Linked DNA regions of Homo sapiens: region 2 is linked to region 1. Evidence: promoter capture Hi-C in 16 types of primary human blood cells and fetal thymus (Javierre and others, 2016). All regions are on one chromosome and are shown on one strand. The core of a region is centred on a gene start or on the middle of the fragment in contact, and the rest is flanking DNA. Distances in the headings are between cores, read along the strand shown. Region 1 holds the start of PPIF (peptidylprolyl isomerase F). Region 2 holds the start of SH2D4B (SH2 domain containing 4B).

The links. Contacts are between HindIII fragments. The CHiCAGO score rates a contact against its expected background, and 5 or more counts as called.
Region 2: the fragment with the promoter of SH2D4B here is called in contact with the fragment with the promoter of PPIF in region 1 in 6 of 17 cell types (non-activated CD4 T cells, activated CD4 T cells, total CD4 T cells and 3 more); the score reaches 11.6 in non-activated CD4 T cells.

Annotation. Positions count from the first base shown.
Region 1 is chr10:79,345,239-79,350,352 of GRCh38, forward strand. PPIF (peptidylprolyl isomerase F) reads left to right here and starts at 2,231. Exons shown (of 6, transcript NM_005729.4): 1 at 2,231-2,505; 2 at 3,838-3,868; 3 at 4,427-4,515. The coding sequence starts at 2,311. RefSeq lists cis regulatory regions at 1,898-2,475, 1,975-3,016, 1,975-2,648, 1,975-2,526, 1,975-2,525 and 5 more, silencers at 2,005-2,414, 2,435-2,664 and an enhancer at 3,979-4,479. The HindIII fragment of the contact is 8,142 bases long and covers 1,856-5,114 here.
Region 2 is chr10:80,536,327-80,541,440 of GRCh38, forward strand. It overlaps SH2D4B (SH2 domain containing 4B), which reads left to right and starts at 1,576. Exons shown (of 8, transcript NM_001388272.1): 1 at 1,576-2,189. The coding sequence starts at 2,006. RefSeq lists enhancers at 3,280-3,419, 4,457-4,636, 4,787-4,846, 5,017-5,114. The HindIII fragment of the contact is 17,935 bases long and covers 1-5,114 here.

The DNA of each region.
Region 1 (5,114 bases), core at 981-3,480:
TCAGAGCCCTCTGTGATTGGGTCCCCACAGGCCTTTCAGCTCATGCTCACTATTAAAACCATCTCCCTAGTCCCTGAGCTCCATAGCCCCCTGGCCAACTCCACCGTTTCTATCTTACTGTGTTGTCTGCCCAGGCTTATCTCTCTTGCCTCCCCACCCTGTCCCAAGGACCAGCTTCGTGGTGAGAGTGAGAAGGGTTTGACATGCAATAACCCTGATTGTGAAGTCAGACAGACTGGTCCCAGTTCCAACAGCCTGCCCTTGGGCAATTCACTCCCCAGCCCCTGGGGCCTGGCTTCCCCATCTGCAAAACAGAGCTGTCTCTCAGGCAGAGTTCACAGCTGGGAAAGGGTTCTGAGAACTGAAGTGGTCAAGTGAATGAAGGCAGCACTCCCCTGGGGTGGGGATGCTCATGCTTCATCAGGATGGGGCATAAACTGAGTCCCCCCAGGAGCAGGCTTGAGAAACAACAGGGTACGCTGAGCTACCTGCTGTGGCTGAAGGTCCTGTGAGCTCAGGGCCTGGAACTGGCCGCAGGGAAGCCTGGGGCCTTAAGGAAGCTTCATGACAAGGCACATGGCGTGATTCCTCCACTCTCAAATCCACAGGATGCACTGGTAGAGGAAGGTCTGGGACATGTGCTGAGGGCTCAAGTGGGCTCCCCACTCAGGCCTGCTCACCTCAGGGCACAATCATAAGAAAGGAGGGGCTGCTCCCCAGGGCAGAGTGAGGCCCCATTCTGGGCTGGGACCTGGAATGCATCCCACCTGGGCTTCACTGGGTGCCTAGGCCCCTCCTAGGCCAGGAATCGGAGAAGGGGGCTATGAACTTCCAGAAGCCAAGCTAGCCAAACTTCCAGAGGCCAAGCTAGCATTCTTATGAAGCTAGGGCACTGCTCTGACCTCATGAATTTGCTTGGCTGGCATTTTGCTGCCTGACCTGTTCCCATGAGCCCATTCAGGATCTGGGGCAGGTCAGTCCAGAGCTGGTCCCTACTCCTGCCCACCTGCCTCCAAGGCTCAGCCCCACCCCTTTCTCTGACCCCTCAGGCCTCTAACTGAGACCGCAGCTCTCTGAATCCCAAACTGTGAGAAAGACAGTCCAGACTCTGTCCATCACAGATGCCCACAGGCACAGTACTTAGTTGACAAATCCATGTCTCTCTCGTTCATTTTATCCTAAGAACAGACACGAGAAAAAAGCAGGATGAGGAGCATGATCGCACCCTTACCCTCCAGATGGGAAACTGAGGCCCAGAGAGGCCTGGAGCACTGGTGCAAGCTGGTAGCAATACTCCAGGGCTCCCTAGCCCTAGCCAGTGCCTTCCTGTGTCCAGGCCTCAGCTTCCCCTGGGGACAGTACAAGTGTTGGGCCAGATGCTCTCTCAGGTCCCTGCGTGGCATCCATTTATTGCAGACCTCCCACCACCTTGCAGTGAGGGTGGCTCTGGCTGCTGGGAAGCCCACTTTCAGCACGTGGGGTTTAAATGCTCCTGCTGTGGGTCTCCCCACTGAGTCCCCTCCCAGGGTGCATGCTGATGGGAGGGGGCAGCTGGCAGTCTGCCCCGGGGCTGTCAGTGTGGGTCCTAGGAGGAGGGATCAGACCCAGTCCTGGGGAGGGCTGGGGGCCTGAAAGGAGCATGATGAGCCCAGGCTGCGTTTTCAGTCTTGCTAGAAGCAGGTCTGGTCCCCAGAAACAACTAGAGACAGGCCCAGGCCGGGACAAGCAGGCTAGGGGGCATCATGGGAGGTGTCTCAGCTTATCTCCTCCCTCTTGCGCCTCTAGCTCACTAATCCCGCCTCTCATCTCACCTTTCTCTAACCCTCTCAGACTGCAGGACCTAGGGCAGCAGGGAAGCTTATTTGGCCTGAGCCTTACCTGCAAAGGGCTCAAAGGTAGACTTTTGCTATTATATTCAAATTGCAACGTATAGATGCTCATATTTTGGAATTAATTACGTTTTAGCAGTTTTTCTTTTTTTAAAAAAATCTGCTGGTACCTTAATAAACATGGAACCAGCAACCTTTTGCCAGGTGTCTGTTCTCCGGGTCTCTGGGCCTGGAGGCGGGAGTGTTTCAAAGCACTTCACGCTCCGCGGCCCCACCGGCTGGCTGCGCTGCCCGCTGCGGCCGGCAGGGGTAGTCCACGGACAGGCCTGGAGGAGGCGGGACGGGGGCAGGGCCGGGAACCTGGGCAAGCCAATAAAGGCTGCGGCGCGCGGCTGCGCGGGACTCGGCCTTCTGGGCGCGCGCGACGTCAGTTTGAGTTCTGTGTTCTCCCCGCCCGTGTCCCGCCCGACCCGCGCCCGCGATGCTGGCGCTGCGCTGCGGCTCCCGCTGGCTCGGCCTGCTCTCCGTCCCGCGCTCCGTGCCGCTGCGCCTCCCCGCGGCCCGCGCCTGCAGCAAGGGCTCCGGCGACCCGTCCTCTTCCTCCTCCTCCGGGAACCCGCTCGTGTACCTGGACGTGGACGCCAACGGGAAGCCGCTCGGCCGCGTGGTGCTGGAGGTGAGACCGCTCGCAGGGCCGGCCTGGGCGCGGGACACGGGCCCGGGGAGAGCCCTGGGCCCCGGGCGGCGCGGTGCCGGGCGCGCTGGGTGACCTTGGGCCTCCCCATGCCGAGCTCTGGGCCTCAGTTTCCCCATTTCTGAGAATGGGCGTCAGAATGATTTCTTCCGGCCTCCCTCGGAGCACTGGAGCGGGGGAGACGGGAGGGAGGGCACGTGTGGAGGAGAAAGCTCAAGGTCAGATCGCAGAGAGGGAGGGCTCAGCACCTCTGGGCCGGCCCGGGCACGAGGGAGGGGCTCCAGGAGCCTTCTGGGGCTGAGCCTAGATCCGGAGCTCCGAGGTGGGTGTCGGGGGTCTTGGGGTGAGCGTCGTGGCCCAGCGGGTGCTCACGTGGCGGCCCTTGCACAACACGGAGCGCTTCCTGGCTCCGGCCCCGCCCCTGCGGTCGGGCTCACACTGGGGGTGCTGGGAAATGGAGCGAGAGGTGGTTTCCAGCAGTAGTGCGGGCCCAGTAGGCCTCAGGCCCCGGCCACCTGGTGGACCCCAGAATGCCCCTCCTGCGAGTCGGGACACACTCAGAGACAGTGTGCCCGGCGCCTCAACCCCTGCCACTGTCCTTGGGGGCCACACTGAGCACCTCCCCTAACTCTGTTTTTGGGTCTTTTCTAAAGCAAAGTAAGAAACAGTCACCAGGGTAGCTTTAGAGGGAAAGCCCTAGTGGAGCCTTCAGGTCGGCCACACATTGACAGCAGGGGTCTGTTTGTGTTGACTGGCCCGTATCCCAGGGAGCCCTTAGTATTTCTTCTTCATTCTCAGTTTCTTCTGGAAAATAGGGACACCCTTCCTGCTTCCATTTGGTTCCAGGGTGGGTCTTGCAGCTTCGAGGGTAGAGGCTGGCTGGGATGGGGCTTCAGCCTTCCCTCCCCACACCCTCATGCCTCTCCCTGGGCCTCAGTTTCCCAACCCCGAATGGAGGAGCTGGTCTGGCTTCTACCTTAGACACACTCTCTTGTCCCTGAATTTCTGATGCTTTGGGCCCAGCTGTGGGAGCACTGCCAGCTGTGTCCACAGAAGTAGGCCAAGATAGCATTGTCATCTCTTCTGACAGATTAGGAAACCAAGGCCACCTCCTCCAGCCTTGGGTTCAGGAAACGGCTCCCAGAAATGATAGAGCTGCCTCCCATGGGGGTTGGCAATAATGGGAATGGAATGTCCACGTGCTTCTTCCTTAGCCTCCTTGGCCACTGTGGGGGTGGGTGGGTGCTGAGAGACACCCACCTTCACCTGCCTCTCCAATGACCATCCTCTTTTGTCCTTCTTCTCCCCCAACAGCTGAAGGCAGATGTCGTCCCAAAGACAGCTGGTAAGACAGGGCCTGGGGCCTTCTGAGATGGGTCTAGAGGGAAGGGGGCCAGGCAGGGCAAGGTGGGTGGCGTGATGAGAAGAGTCGGGGCTCAGAGACCCCTGACAGATGGGAGCTCCATGTGTGGCTCAGCCATTGGGTGCTCTGGGGCAGCCCTGCCATCCCTCTCTGGGCCTCAACGTTGGCTCTGCCCTCCTCTCTCATAGTAGCTGGGAGCCTCAGAGCCAGTGGAAGGCACATGTAAATTTCCCGGAGACTTCCCCACTCCTGGTGCCCAGTGAGGCAGGGTGATGGGCACACAGCCCTTGAGTCCGTGCCCTGCTGGCCAGCACAGCCATGAGCCTGTACTCTTGTCACAGTGCTCAGGTACTGAGGACAGGGAAGGGGAGTGACTTGTCCAGTTACATAGCGAGTTGGGCAGAGCAGACCCAAGAGGTGGGCCAGAGTCTTTATCCCCCTGTTCACTGCTGGGGATGTAGCAGGGATTTTGGCTGGAACGGGTATGACCCTGGAATTGGGGCCTGGCCCTGTTGACCTGTGTTTCTCTTCGACCCTCAGAGAACTTCAGAGCCCTGTGCACTGGTGAGAAGGGCTTCGGCTACAAAGGCTCCACCTTCCACAGGGTGATCCCTTCCTTCATGTGCCAGGTAATGTAGTTTCCTCTTCTGTAAGGGGGGATGAGAGCAGGAGCTGCCTTGTGGGTGTGTGAAGATGCCTGGTATGAGGAAGGTGCTGAGCAGAGCAGCTGCAGTTGCTCTGTCAGCCAGGCTGCCCTCCCTGCATTAGCCCTGTATCCAGGCTTCACTGCACATGGAAGCCCAGCCCCAACCCGCTGCCACTCCAGGTCAGTGGCAGGCCCTGCCCGGGGGACTGGGAGGTGGAGTCTATCAAGAGAGAGCTGGGTTGGGAGATGGATGTGCTGGGGGTGGCCTTGAAGACTTTGAAGAGCCAGCATATTCCAGTGGTCTCTGACCTTGTCCCCTGTGTGCCCCTGAGCACTGGTGTGGGAGATAAGAGAGGGAGAGAGAGAAGTGGAGGAGGCGGAGGAGGAAGACAGGTCCAGGGCAGGAACACACACGCCAGGACTTGGGGCTTCCCTTCCCAGAGAAAGGCATTATTCTCGGTGAAATGAATGTTTTTCGGTCATGTGTCATGCTCAGTTTTCACAAGCATTGGTATTGCTGTGTCAGAGGTTTGGGGGTAGGTGTTGTAGCAGGAGCTTCCTGTGGGTCAGGACCCAGGTGGT
Region 2 (5,114 bases), core at 326-2,825, 1.2 Mb after region 1:
GGTGGCACCATCACCGTTCTCGCCCGCCTCCAGCCGGCCCATTCCTGCTGCTCCCTACAGCGTTGTCCCTGCCCCGTGCCCTCTTGTGGTCGTAGGTATCTGGCGGCCCGGGAAAGACAAAAAGAAGCTGCCCGCAGGAGCCCAGACCCTGGGGGCCTTCCTCCCCTTGTCTCCTCTTTGGACTCGGGGGTCTCCCACCAGCCACGGCGAGGGGGAGAAAGAGAATAGCTGGGCAGAGGCTAGGGAAGACCCCCGGTCTCAGAAACTGAGGGGAGCCAGGACTCCCGGTGGGGGAGTCGGTGCAAGCCCTGAGGTGGGTGGATGGGAGTCCAGGGCCACAGCTCTGCAGCGGACAGGCGAGTCCTGTGGCGGCTCTAGGAAGGTCTGGGCACACTGGGACCAGCTAGCTGGACCTGGGTGGGGAGGGGTGGGGCGTCTGACTCCACTCCTGTGACCTGGACATTGCCTAGCTGAGCAGGAGCTTTGACCCTATGGGCTTACAGCTCATCTGAATCTGCTTAGTCCATCTTCCTGTTGTGTTAACCTTGCAGAGGGGGAAGAATGCCAACTCTCCACCCCTCTTCCATCACTCTTGGGTACCTGATCCACCTTCCACCCTCATGGGCAAGGAAGGGGACAGGAAGGTCACCAATCCAACCAAGCCACAGTGCCAAATCCTGTTGGTTCGTTTGTTTTCCCTTGGTTGGGTTATGTTTTCAAACCATCAACAGATTCATAGTTGCTAGTGGATGTCAAATTTCAAAACGGGGGAGTCCCAATACAGTGACTTGTCCATTAGGAAGCCATAGGCAAGCCACTTACTTTCTCTGAGCTTCAATATCCTTGTCCCAATAAGAAGGCATCTGTGATTTGCTCTGAGCACATATTTAGGGTGAGCTTTCACCCTAAAGATCTCAGCAACGGCAGCTTCTACCCACCTTCACACACCAAAGAGAGGGTGGCTTCCCTCCCAGCAGAAGGCAACATCCCGCCATTCCAGTGTGCTTCTGATCAGGGCACAGAGAAGAGCCAGTTTCATCTTCTTTCTTTTTGGTCAACTCCAGGCATCTGCAACAAACAAGATTAACAACGACCATTAAAACTGGCCCCTGGAGGGTTTATCTGTCAGCCACGCATGGCTGCAGGATCTCATTATATATAGGCCAAAGGGAAAGGATGTCTGCTTCCTTTCTGTCCTGGAATTCCAAGATAAAATCCCCTCCAGTTGTCTCTACTGATTCCATTTTGTTTTCTTTCTTGGCTGTAACACAGATAGGAGGAAAAATCTTTCCTCCCCCAAGGCAGAGTTTTAAACGCATCATCTCAGAATGCCAAATGTTCTGGAAAGGAAGAAAGTTGGCAGCGAAGGAACCCGCAGAGAGAGGGGCTGAGAGGGCTGAGGGGCCCAGCAGCTTCTGGCAGGCTCCTCTGGTCTGTGTTTGAAATTGGCTGAAAAGACATGGAATTTAGTAGGCAAGTCTGCCTCCTTCTCCTCCTCTTATCTGCAGAGGAGAGATCAGTTCCCAGCTGGCCGGGGCAGTGTCATTGATATAGCTGGTGTCATTGTTACCTTCCACTAACAGATCACTCGACACCTACCAGCCCAGGCAGGGCTGGGACTGGGCATTTCCTGGCTGAGCTGGAGGCTTGGGCCCTTCCCATTGTCTCAGAACCCCAGGTGATGCCAAGACATGGGCTCTCCTGGGATGCCGTGCTTGGTGACCCAGGAGAAGGACTAGATTGCTCCTGGTGGTTGCTCCCCCTTGCAGAGTCCCACCTGCCCCTTTGGGTCCTGTTGCCTGGCCTCTTTTGCTGTCCTGGGTAGAGGAGATGAGTTCGTCGCTGGCTGCAAGCTGAGGCCAACTGACAATGCTGCACAGAGAAGGGGCACCGAGAGTGGCCCCGGATTGAGCAGTCCGTAGTGCAGAGCAGCCCCTCGGGCGTTCTGCCTGGCCCTGCTTCCCCTGCTGGCTGCCCTTCTGGTGCGTGCATCCCAGGTGGCATCATGCTGCAGCAGATCCTGCACGACATGTACATCGACCCCGAGCTCCTTGCCGAGCTCAGCGATGTGCAGAAGCACATCCTCTTCTACAAAATGCGGGAGGAGCAGCTGAGGCGCTGGAAGGAGCGGGAGACTTGGGAGGCCCTGGCCCAGGACGAGGGTCTCAGGCCTCCAAAGACCAAGCGAGGTACGTGGCTGGGAGTCACAGAGAGGTAGGCCACCAGTCCCCCAGGAGGTAGAAAAATTAGCAGGGCCAGGCTGTGCCCTTCTTCAAGATGGGCACTGGGGTGATGAGGGCTGGGGGCTTGAAACCCTTGTCTTGTGGGCATCAGGTCCCATGAGCCTGTGCTTTTGCCTTTTGGCCAGGACCTTAGGGCTTCGAGGCTGCTGCAGAGGCTGTCCAGCGGCCCTTATTGGAGTCGGGGAGTTGGGACTTGCTTTGTCTTGTTGTGGAAGGCCCGAGTTCTGGGAAGACACCATTGAGACTTCAGATTGTGCTCCGACGTGGTTGGCAATGGTAGGGTGAACGACGGCATATTTGTGACCCTTGCCATTGGTTCTGGGCCAGAGTGTGGTGTAGATATGCAGTTCCTTTCTCCTTGGCATGCGTGGCACACCAGTTCTTGGCTAGGGCCCCTTCTGTGGACTGTGCCTCTCCCTCCAGATCCTCCGGCAGGAGGATGCTGTGGGTTGTCTCTGGAGCCCCACTGGGCATCCGGAGAGAGGGCATCAGGGAACGTCCCACACAATGAATGACCATCCCCAAATGGTCGTAGCAACTGCAGATGAGAAGCAAGGGCCTAGCCTACATTTCAGGTGTTTTGTATGCAAAGTCATGTGCCAGTCAATCCTATGGACTGGTACACCTGTGGGTGAAGGAAATCATCCAGGACCCCTGGGCCAGAAACTGGCAGGCTGCTGAGGCTTGGCTTGGCACAGGACTCAATCCTGCCAGGGATTGTAGTTTCTGTGGATGCTGCATGCACTTTACAGTTTGCAAGGCTTATGTGCCTTCACCCTTTGAAGTTTTCAATCCAGAACAAAGTCCTGTTTCAGGGCTGAGCACACAGCTCCCTTGGTGATCTGGCTCTTCTCCATGCCAGGCTCACTGCTGGCCAGTCCCCACCAGGTGCCACAGGCCACACCCACATCATCTGGACATGCTTGCTCTTGTCTCTGGTCTTCACATGAGTGGCTCTCACCGTTGGGAATGTCCTTCTGCCTTCATCCACCTGACAGACTCCATCAGGAGTGGCCCCCCTGCCCTGGAGTGTTCAGGGATGCTCTTGCATAGGGCAGTACTTGCTCCTCTGTGGCTGCCTGGCATGTAGGACCCACGCCTGCCCTGGCATTTGCCACCCTGTCATTGTCATTCCTCATCTGCTTGCCTGGCTCTCCGATGGGCTCAAAGGCACTGGTGTGTGAGGGCTTCCTCCACTCTATCTTCCTCCCCTGGGCCCAGCACAGAGGTGGCACATGGTGTTAAATCCTTGTTTTGAACAAGACACAGCAGGACCCTGCCGGGGAGGTTGGGGCAGAGCTGTGACTTGGCTGCAGGTGGCTGCTGCCAAAGCTGGGGCCTTCCGGGCTGGGCTGCGCTGGCAGCTGCATCACTAACTGGTGAAATGACAAGCCACCTTGCCAGCACCACCCGGCCTGAGCCCTGGGGACTCATGATGCCTGCATGATGACTCTTCTTGGAGGGAGACAGATGCCTAAAAATTTAACTGCAAAAATATTTATACAGAGATTTGTCACACATAGACATCTACATTTTCATGTATAAATTATACATTAAACTCATTTGAGTTTCTGGTGCAGAAGATCCTTTTTCTGGTAATTAATTTTCTGATTTATAAAGAATGGAAAAGCAGGAAAGCACGCCGAGGAATGTGTGTATCCCAGGTCAGGATCCCGCTTGGATCCTGGCTCTTTGCTTCGGTCCTGCCTTTTGGAACTGTCTGGGCATGCCACTGGGGAGCCTGGGGGCTGGCCCTGCCCAGGAGCCGGAAGAGCTTTCGGCCGGAGGGTCCAGGATATACAGTATCTGCTTCATGTCCTGGGGTCGTGATGAAGGGTGGCAACAACTTGTGAGCTTTACGTTGACTGGGTGCCTACCCAGCCCTTGCTGCTCCCGTGTCCCTGCGGGGTGGCAGGGCAAGCTCCCTGATTTCATTGCAGATAAGGAAGGTGAGGCTCAGAGAAGTGATGCGCTACATCCAAGGTCATCCAGCTGCTACATCTCATGACTTGGATCTGGGGTCTGGTGACTGATTTTTTTTCTGTTCATTCACTTCCAAACTCGGAACTCCAATTAAACAAGTGAGCTGTGCACACATTCACTTGTTCACTCATTCACCAATTCATTCACTTATCCAGCATTACTATGTGCTGATTTCAGTGAATGGGGCAGTGCTTGTCCTGGAGACGGTGGGTAGATGGATCATAGGGAACACAGCCAACTCGAGTGCCAAGGGTGAGGCTTGGTTCAAAGCAGCCGTGCCGTGTCCCAGGGCGGGAATTGTGCGGGGACGGGCTCCACGGAGGAATCTTCTCTTCCTTCCCTTGATGTTGCCAGAGGACTCAGGAGGCTCTCCAGATGCTGGTGAGACCCCAGCCCCAGTTGATGTCCAGGCTCTTGAAACTGTCTTGAGAAAGAACTCGGGAATGAGTCAGAATGATAGGAAAGGCAAGAAACTGTTAGTGAGAAGCGAAAGTACACACTTGAGAGAGAAGTGCGGGCGTGCTCATGAGAACGTGTCACACCCAGCAGAGTCTGGGTTTCTAATTTTATGGGTGTTTCTTTAATTAGGGGATGGAACAATTATTAGGTGTTCTGGAAGAGGAGGAGATTTCAGGGAACCCCCTGGGTTACTGTCTCCTTTCTCCCTTCTTTGGGTTTGCCCAGAAGAGCCATGGACAAGTCACCCTGAGTGGGATTTCAGCTGTTTTTACTCTCTTCCTTTGGGTTTTCTGTTATCTTGTTGTTTCTTTGTCTTGTTCTTGTTTTAGCTGTTGTTTGGGTTTTTCCATGCTCCTGTGACCACCCAGTGCTATTCTTGTCTCATTGACAGGCATCCTCTTTCCTGGTCCCCTCCCTACACATTTTTTT